Linked DNA regions of Homo sapiens: region 2 is linked to region 1. The links are contacts of gene promoters, found by promoter capture Hi-C in blood cells and fetal thymus (Javierre and others, 2016). All regions are on one chromosome and are shown on one strand. The core of a region is centred on a gene start or on the middle of the fragment in contact, and the rest is flanking DNA. Distances in the headings are between cores, read along the strand shown. Region 1 holds the start of LRRC53 (leucine rich repeat containing 53). Region 2 has its middle 200 kb from the start of LINC02238.

What was found. The method cuts DNA at HindIII sites, captures the fragments that hold promoters and counts their contacts. A CHiCAGO score of 5 or more calls a contact.
Region 2: a fragment that was not itself captured here is called in contact with the fragment with the promoter of LRRC53 in region 1 in 1 of 17 cell types (erythroblasts); the score reaches 6.1 in erythroblasts.

Annotation. Positions count from the first base shown.
Region 1 is chr1:74,511,118-74,514,640 of GRCh38, forward strand. LRRC53 (leucine rich repeat containing 53) reads right to left here and starts at 1,494. Exons shown (of 5, transcript NM_001382280.1): 1 at 1,409-1,494. The region is part of intron 25 of FPGT-TNNI3K (FPGT-TNNI3K readthrough); the gene reads left to right. All of the region lies in intron 23 of TNNI3K (TNNI3 interacting kinase), which reads left to right. The HindIII fragment of the contact is 6,650 bases long and covers 1-2,998 here.
Region 2 is chr1:73,872,490-73,876,321 of GRCh38, forward strand. No RefSeq gene overlaps it. Among named protein-coding and RNA genes, the nearest start is that of LINC02238, 200 kb to the left of the region's middle. The HindIII fragment of the contact is 3,401 bases long and covers 678-3,832 here.

The sequences.
Region 1 (3,523 bases), core at 244-2,743:
TGATCACCTCAGGTGATCCATCCGCCTTGGCCTCCCAAAGTGCTGGGATTACAGGCGTGAGCTACCGTGCCCGGCCTATTTTTTTTTTTTCCGAGATGGAATTTCGCTCTTATTGCCCAGGCTGGAGTGCAATGGTGCGATCTCGGCTCACCACAACCTCTGCCTCCCGGGTTCAAGCAATTCTCGTGCCTCAGGCTCCCGAGTAGCTGGGACTACAGGCACACGTCACTACACCCTGCTAATTTTTGTATTTTTAGTAGAGATAGGGTTTTGCCATGTTGGCCTCGAACTCCTGGTCTCGAACTCCTGACCTCAAGTAATTCACTCTTATTTTCTTTATTTAAAGAATTAACAATATATTACTTACAGGTGGAAAACACAAATGTATGTGTCATTTTCCCTATTACGCTAGCCTCTTCACTGATCTAATTCCATTGGATATGCATTTATCTATCATTTATTAAGCAGCTCTTATATATTGAATCATGTAGTAAATATTGGACACCCAATGATGGATTAGAGATCTCTTCAGTCCTGGGGGAATTCACAGTTTAAGGGAGGAGGTCAGAGAAACACACAGGAAGATAAGTACTGAGCCATGTGTAGGAAGCCCTGTGAGCCTGAGAAGAGTCAAGGTAGGCTTCCCAAAAGCCATCCCGTTTCACTTGAGTTTGGCAGAGTTAACCAAGCAGAGAAAGGAAGAAAGAGTGTACTAGGAAAGGGAAGCAACAGGGACAAAGGCAGGAAAGTGGGAACCTGCACAGTACATTTGGGAACAGCAAAGGGTTGAGTGTGGGTAGAGCAGAAGCTATAGATGAGGATCTAAAGTCAATAGAAGTAGAAATAAAAGAACATGGAGTCAAGTAAGTTCAGTACCCAAGGAAAATCGGAAGGAAGAGGGCAGCTTTCCTTCATGCAGCTTCCCTTCCAGTCACTGAGACCTCAGACTCTTCTCTTCATTCAGGCAGTGAGCATGAAAAGATCTGGATGGGACTGGATATAGCAGCCACCAGTCTTTATTGAAATAGCCCTGGGGCATGACTCGAACCTGTGAGGGACCATAAAGGGGCATGATTTCTGCAGCTGTGTTTACTGTCAGTGATTGTACAGACTCAAACATGGAGCTAGGGATAATATGGTAATCTAGATGAGACATGAGTGACATAGACACAGTAGAGCTCCACCTTGAACCCAAGATTGGCCCCTAGAACTGTGCAAAACAGGCAACACTGCAGGGTGGCTCATGGCACTCAACTATTCCTGCACTGATGACATTCCTGTACTGATGACATCACCCACATGATCATCTGTTTATAAGTCTGTCTCTTTAAATGGTGAGGAAAGAGAAATAAAGGTGTAAAAATCCAGCCATCATAACAAAAACACCAAAAGAAAGAAATTAACTTACCCAAAGGTCTCACAGCTTGTAGTTTGTGAATCTCTACATTAAAAGGTGGATGATGAATCTGAGACCTACTGAGTTAACTGTCCAGCATCTCAGCCATATGCCTTATTCCTCTTTATATGCATCTCCACTCCCACACCACCCCCTCCTGGCTTCATCCTTTAGTGCCTGGAATAACGCCTGGCACATGGTAGTTACTCATCAGAAGTCCACTGAGTGAAAGAACAAACACCTACCACTGACGGGTTGCTATTTATACCATTCTGTCTTCACTGTTGGGAGCTTCATACTGTATTCTTCAAAATGGGCACCCCCTGCAGCATGCCTCACTCTACAAGGAAAACTTCTCTGTTAACAAGCCTTATGATGGGGTCACTATGTGATCACCTAAAGCTGGCCTTTTCTGTCCCTCATCCGGGTAAATGGCTCACCGTGGAAAACTATAGACGACTTTTGCCCTTTCACTAACATTCCTCTTGATAAGACACTTAAAGAGGAAAATAGTCTTGACTCTTTAAAGTTGATGCCAGTTTGGGGCTGTTAACAAAGTCAAGGGATTCTGTTGTTAGAATCAACCTAGCACACAGCTTGCTCAGTCGATACTGTTTCACTGGCCTGAGATTACAGCAGAGGTAGGTGCCTAAGATGAGGAAATGGTTGTGGAGAAAGAGTCCGAATGACCCAGAGGTCCACGTGTGCTTTCCTAGTTCGTTTATTCAGCTGATATTTATTGAGAAATTATACCGGGATGTGGAAATTTACTGAGTCCCTGTCCTTTCATTATTTTAATCCAGTGCACTAGGTGTTCTTATCAGAGTGAGTCCATGAAATGTTGGGGATGCAGGGGCACTGGTAGTAGGAGTTGAGAACCTGATGATGACTGTCTTTGCAATGTTCCCTCAGAAGAAAAGGTTTGTGCAGAAGGCACATCCCACTTCAGACTCCTGCACATCTGCAGAGAACTTTGCATTCTCACTGCAAGAGGAGTTCCTCTTCCTTTCATTTTTCTTCTCTTTGTCTTCCTTTTTTTCTCTATGCCAAACCTAAGCAAATCTGCTTCATCCAGAGGCAGCTGGCGCTACTATGTGGGAGTGTTAAATGTTTAACATCTTGTCACTTGCGTAACTGATGGAGTCATCCTTTTTGTTTCAGAGTTTCATGTTTAGGGGTTGAAAAGCTAGATTGATGAGCATTACCAGAGAGAAATATTTTTTGGAAAGTAAGTGAAGCTGATGACACATTACTTTACAGTTTAGTGAATTTCAGCAAATCTAATTCTATTATCCTGTCAAAGTTTCACAAAAAGGAGACCTGAAAGCATATTTTAGATGAATCTTTAAAGATTTCAAGAAGCCACAACCGCATCTGCAAAGCTCAGATGCATCTGGTGCTGACAGACCTTTGTTTTTCTATAGACTAAGGGGAGTAAATAATCTTCCAAAAACTAATTAAGTAAAGTTATCTTTGGTTGTACAGTGCCTGCCTCTCTCTCCCTTGAAAAGGTTGTCAGCCAGTAAACGATAACTGCGTTTTTCAATTCAAAGGCTATTCGAAGTTTGCATAGCCAAATTTACCCAGGCACACCAAAATAGAAGCTTCCTTTATGAATCATAGAGTCTTGTAATGCAGATTTTATAGAGCATTTAAAGCCAGATCATTTATGTCCTTGTTTATTTTCACAATCAAGTATAAGATACGGTCTAATAAATACATTCTGACCAAAATGCTAGGAGCAATTGTTTTAAAGCGTTTTCACACAATTCTATGTATTTGTCAGAGGCTTACAAGCTGACAAGCTGAAAGCGCTTTGTGATGCTTTTGGCAATTTGTGTGATTGTGTATACACTTGCACAGAAGTTCCTTATCGAGAGGAAGCATTTAAGTAAAAAGGGGAGCATTAATGAAAAGGTCCATTTTAATAGAAATTGCTGTTGTTCTCTACTATCTAACAATTATTCACTTAAGAAGAAAAGTCTTGATAGAATTTATTGAGAACCTACTATGTACTAGTACACATATTATTAATATAATATCCCCAATTATTTGCTAGGTAGATATTATCTCCATTTTGAAGATGGGAAAACTGGTCAAAACAGGAAACATCTTCTGAGATAGTAA
Region 2 (3,832 bases), core at 1,128-3,627, 640 kb before region 1:
GTGCTGAGAGTTGAGCCTTTTTATTTGAACTCAAGTCCATATGACTAGTGTGGAGGATTTCTGTTTGAATGCGTTTGTGCAAAATCTGGTTGATCAGTTGTTAGTGATATTGAAGAAGTGTTTTGAAATATATGCACATGTTGCCTGAGGTCACTGATAGTTTTTTTTATACCATTCAGCATCAAATTATATAAGGTATAAGACCTTGTCATGCCTATGAGATTAGGTATTCCTCTGTCATTGGAGGAAACTCTGAAAATATCTTATTTTCACTGAGGTTATCAAAGCAGCCATGTTTTCTGTAGTGAAATAGTGGAGAGTTATATAATGTACTCCCTTATCTAGCTTTAAATATATCTATGTCTTTCAGAGCATTCTGGTAAATCGCATTGCACTGAAAAGGAAAGCACAGATAAAATTGGGGATTAGTGATCTTTACTAACCTGAAGAAAAGGCTTGAAAGCATGGAACTGGGTTGAAGGTAAAATGTATCCATTGGTAGAACACAGAAAATACTATATTTTGTTGACTTCATATTTGAGCATCATCTTTCTCTTTTGCCCCTTTGCTATTGCTTGCTGAAGAGGGTGTTCTCTAAAATCCAGAGATCCTTTTTAAGAATTTATAGCAGGGCTGCCCCCTTAATCTTTTCCTCATCTATAAATCACTGATCTTGAAGCTTTGCTTTGAAGGTTTATATGAAATGCATCCAAATACCTAGTATATACTAGGCATTCAACAAATGGCAAAATATCATCCATATGGCAAAATAATCTCTTAAAGCAGAAATCTTTGAATGTTTGGTCCTTTCTTAACTCTGACCCTTTTGCTAGTCAGGACTCTATTCACATTACCTAGGAAATAAGAAGGACTGATATTGGAAAAAAAAAAAAAAAGAGAGAGGGAGACAAAGACAGACAGAGAGAAAAGAAGGAAGGAAGGAAAGAAGGAAGTCAATTTTTTTTTTTAATTTCCAAATAAGGCCTTGGAATCCGATAGGAATAGCCAAGTAGGAAGTCAAGAATGGAATTTGGCTGGCATGGTGGCTCAAGCCTGTAATCCTAGAACTTCAGGAGGTCAAGGCATAGAGATCGCTTGAGGCCAGGAGTTCAAGATCAGCCTAAGCAACATAGCATGATCCCCATCTCTACAAGAAATCATTTTAAAAAATTAGCTGGGCATGATGGCACATGCCTAAACTCCCAGTTACTCATGAGGCTGAGGTGGGAAGACTGCTTGAGCCCAGGAATTCTAGGCTGCAGTGAGCTATAATCATGCTGCTATTCTCCAGCCTGGGCAACAGTGTGAGACTCTGTCTTTAAGAAGAAAAAAAAAAGTTTTTGTTGTAGCAACAATAGATTAGATTGGGAATCAAACCAAATTTCCAACCACTCTTGTACTTAGTCAAAGGCCTGTCATTCTTGCTATGCTATTGTCTGAGAGTGCACCTGTCAATAGCTGTCTAGTGTTTTCTATGATCATTTAGGAGAGATGACAGTGGCTGGGCCCAAAATTTGCTGTGCCTCAACTGATGAAATAAGCCTCAGCTAAATACTGCCCAGTGTGGTGGTTCAAAACATCTCTAAGAACCCCAAAATTGAGTATGAGAGAATTGAGACTCACAGGCAAGGGAGGGTGGGACAGAGACAGCCCCCAAGAGCCTAGTGATTCTGCCCAGTGGTATTCTAGTTGCTGCCATTGTCACCCTTGAAACCATATTATATTTTCACTATTGTGCTTCTCAAAATAACACAGTAGTCCTTATATTGTGTTGGATTTGGCTTCCATTCCCTATTCCAGAGACAGAAGTGTATTGCTAGACTCTTCACACAAAAGCCTCCCCCAATGCCAAATAACTCATTTAAATATGCTTTTTATTTTTAAGACAAATATTTTGTGTCATATGCAAAACTGTCAGTGCTTTTAGATGTTTCTGATGGTTTTTAAGATAATTCTCATTACACATTCAATCTAATTTTGCTTTATCCTGACATTTTAATATTAAAGATATATTCTATTAGTTACTATGTTGTTTCTGGGAACAGTTTATTTTAATTCTACAAAATTTGCATTAGTCTCCTTCTATTAAGAGAGGTTTTATTCTCCCCTGATAAATTTTGCTTTATAAGAACATGAAATTTACTGATATACTAATGGCCATTTTAATCACATGTCCATCTTGTAGAAAGGAAAAATAATTTTCCCTCTGCCCTTCTAAGTTCTTAGTTGGGACCCATGTAACTAAAGCTGATTAACAAGAGAAAAACGAACAAGTTTATTAACATGTATACCTCATACATATGGGAGAAAAGTCAGGGAAAATGTACCTCTCAACGAAGTGGTTTACAACTCTTTTTTAAGCAGCATCATCACTGAAGAACAATAAATTTGTAAAGAAATGACAGAACAAAGGGAAAAGGGCCTAGAGTCTCCAGGGGCAGAAAACTGTGGGAAGGCAAATATATGGGGAACTAAATACATTCCAGCTAGTAAAGCTTGTGACATAGGCTCCTCTGGTGCTGACTCCAGGCTGATGTCATCTTCAGTGATCAACCTTTGTGCTTCTGGTAAGAGAGGGGAAGAGAGATGCTTTTTTAAATATTTGTCCTGCTTTTCAGGCAAATGGGGGAAGATAGAGCTCTGCTTTTATCTGCTGTTTCTCAGCTGCCTTCAGCTCAAAATAATCTTTATGCCACAGTGGCATATTTTGGAGTGGTATATTCTGCCACTTTTCAATCTTTAAAAGAATATAGAGACCTATATTTGGTCCAAAGAGTAAAAAAATAAATTAAAAAGATTATTTTAGCAATCAAAAGTCAATATCAAAGCCTGTGGCAATTTGCTGATAGATTATCATAGGAGTATTTTAATAATAAAAAGTAAACTCTGAAAACCAACTTATATTCATTTGACTATAAGAATAAAAAATTATACTACATCTTTTAATATTTATTTTCTAGGAAATTTAGGAAATTCTCCACTGATGTTTTTTATTCTGAATATAAATTAAATGCTGTTCTCACTTATTATTAACTAAATAGCAGTCTGAAGGATTTACTGTGAGCCCACATTTTATTTTTTAAGATTTGATTCATTTCTCTTTGTTGTTATAGTCTTCATGTGACTCCTCAGGTGTTGTTAAGCGCCATTACTAATGTGATCTATTTTGCTCCAGGTATTTAATTACTTTTTAAATTTAACTAATACATGTTCTTTTGTAGGAAATACAATAGTGCAAAGATAAAAATCCTAATTCACTGATAGCACTAATATCCAGAAAAAAATCATAGTAACTTATTAGCATATAAATGTAACCCACCTATGCATATGTGTCTGTAAATGTCTGTATACGTGTGTATGTAAGTGGCAAAAGTTAGTTTAAACTGTGCATGATGTTTTCTCTCTTCTCAAAATTTCACTTTTATAACTTCCAAAGAGAGAATTAGGTAAATGTATTAATTTTCTCTAGCAATATTTGGTGCTTGTAATGATATCCTAAAAAATTTCATTTACTAATCCAACTACTATTATAAATAACAATATATTGTGCTTTATTTGGTTTAAATATTTTCATGCAATATAAGTGATGTAACACTAATAAAGAGTTTCCAAAAAAAATATTAATTATATATTTCTAGGTATTTCATTTTATTTTCGAGGTAAAGTTATTGAGGAATTCTTTGTTTCAATGACTCATCTTCTCTTATCTGGTAGAGATTTCATTTATTTCCTCCTCCTTCTCCCACCCTTTAAAAAGATAATTTGCTTACCTACCTGCAAATTGTTCATCTTTGCTAAACTTTGAATTCTTTCCGTTTCTTTTAGTATTTGG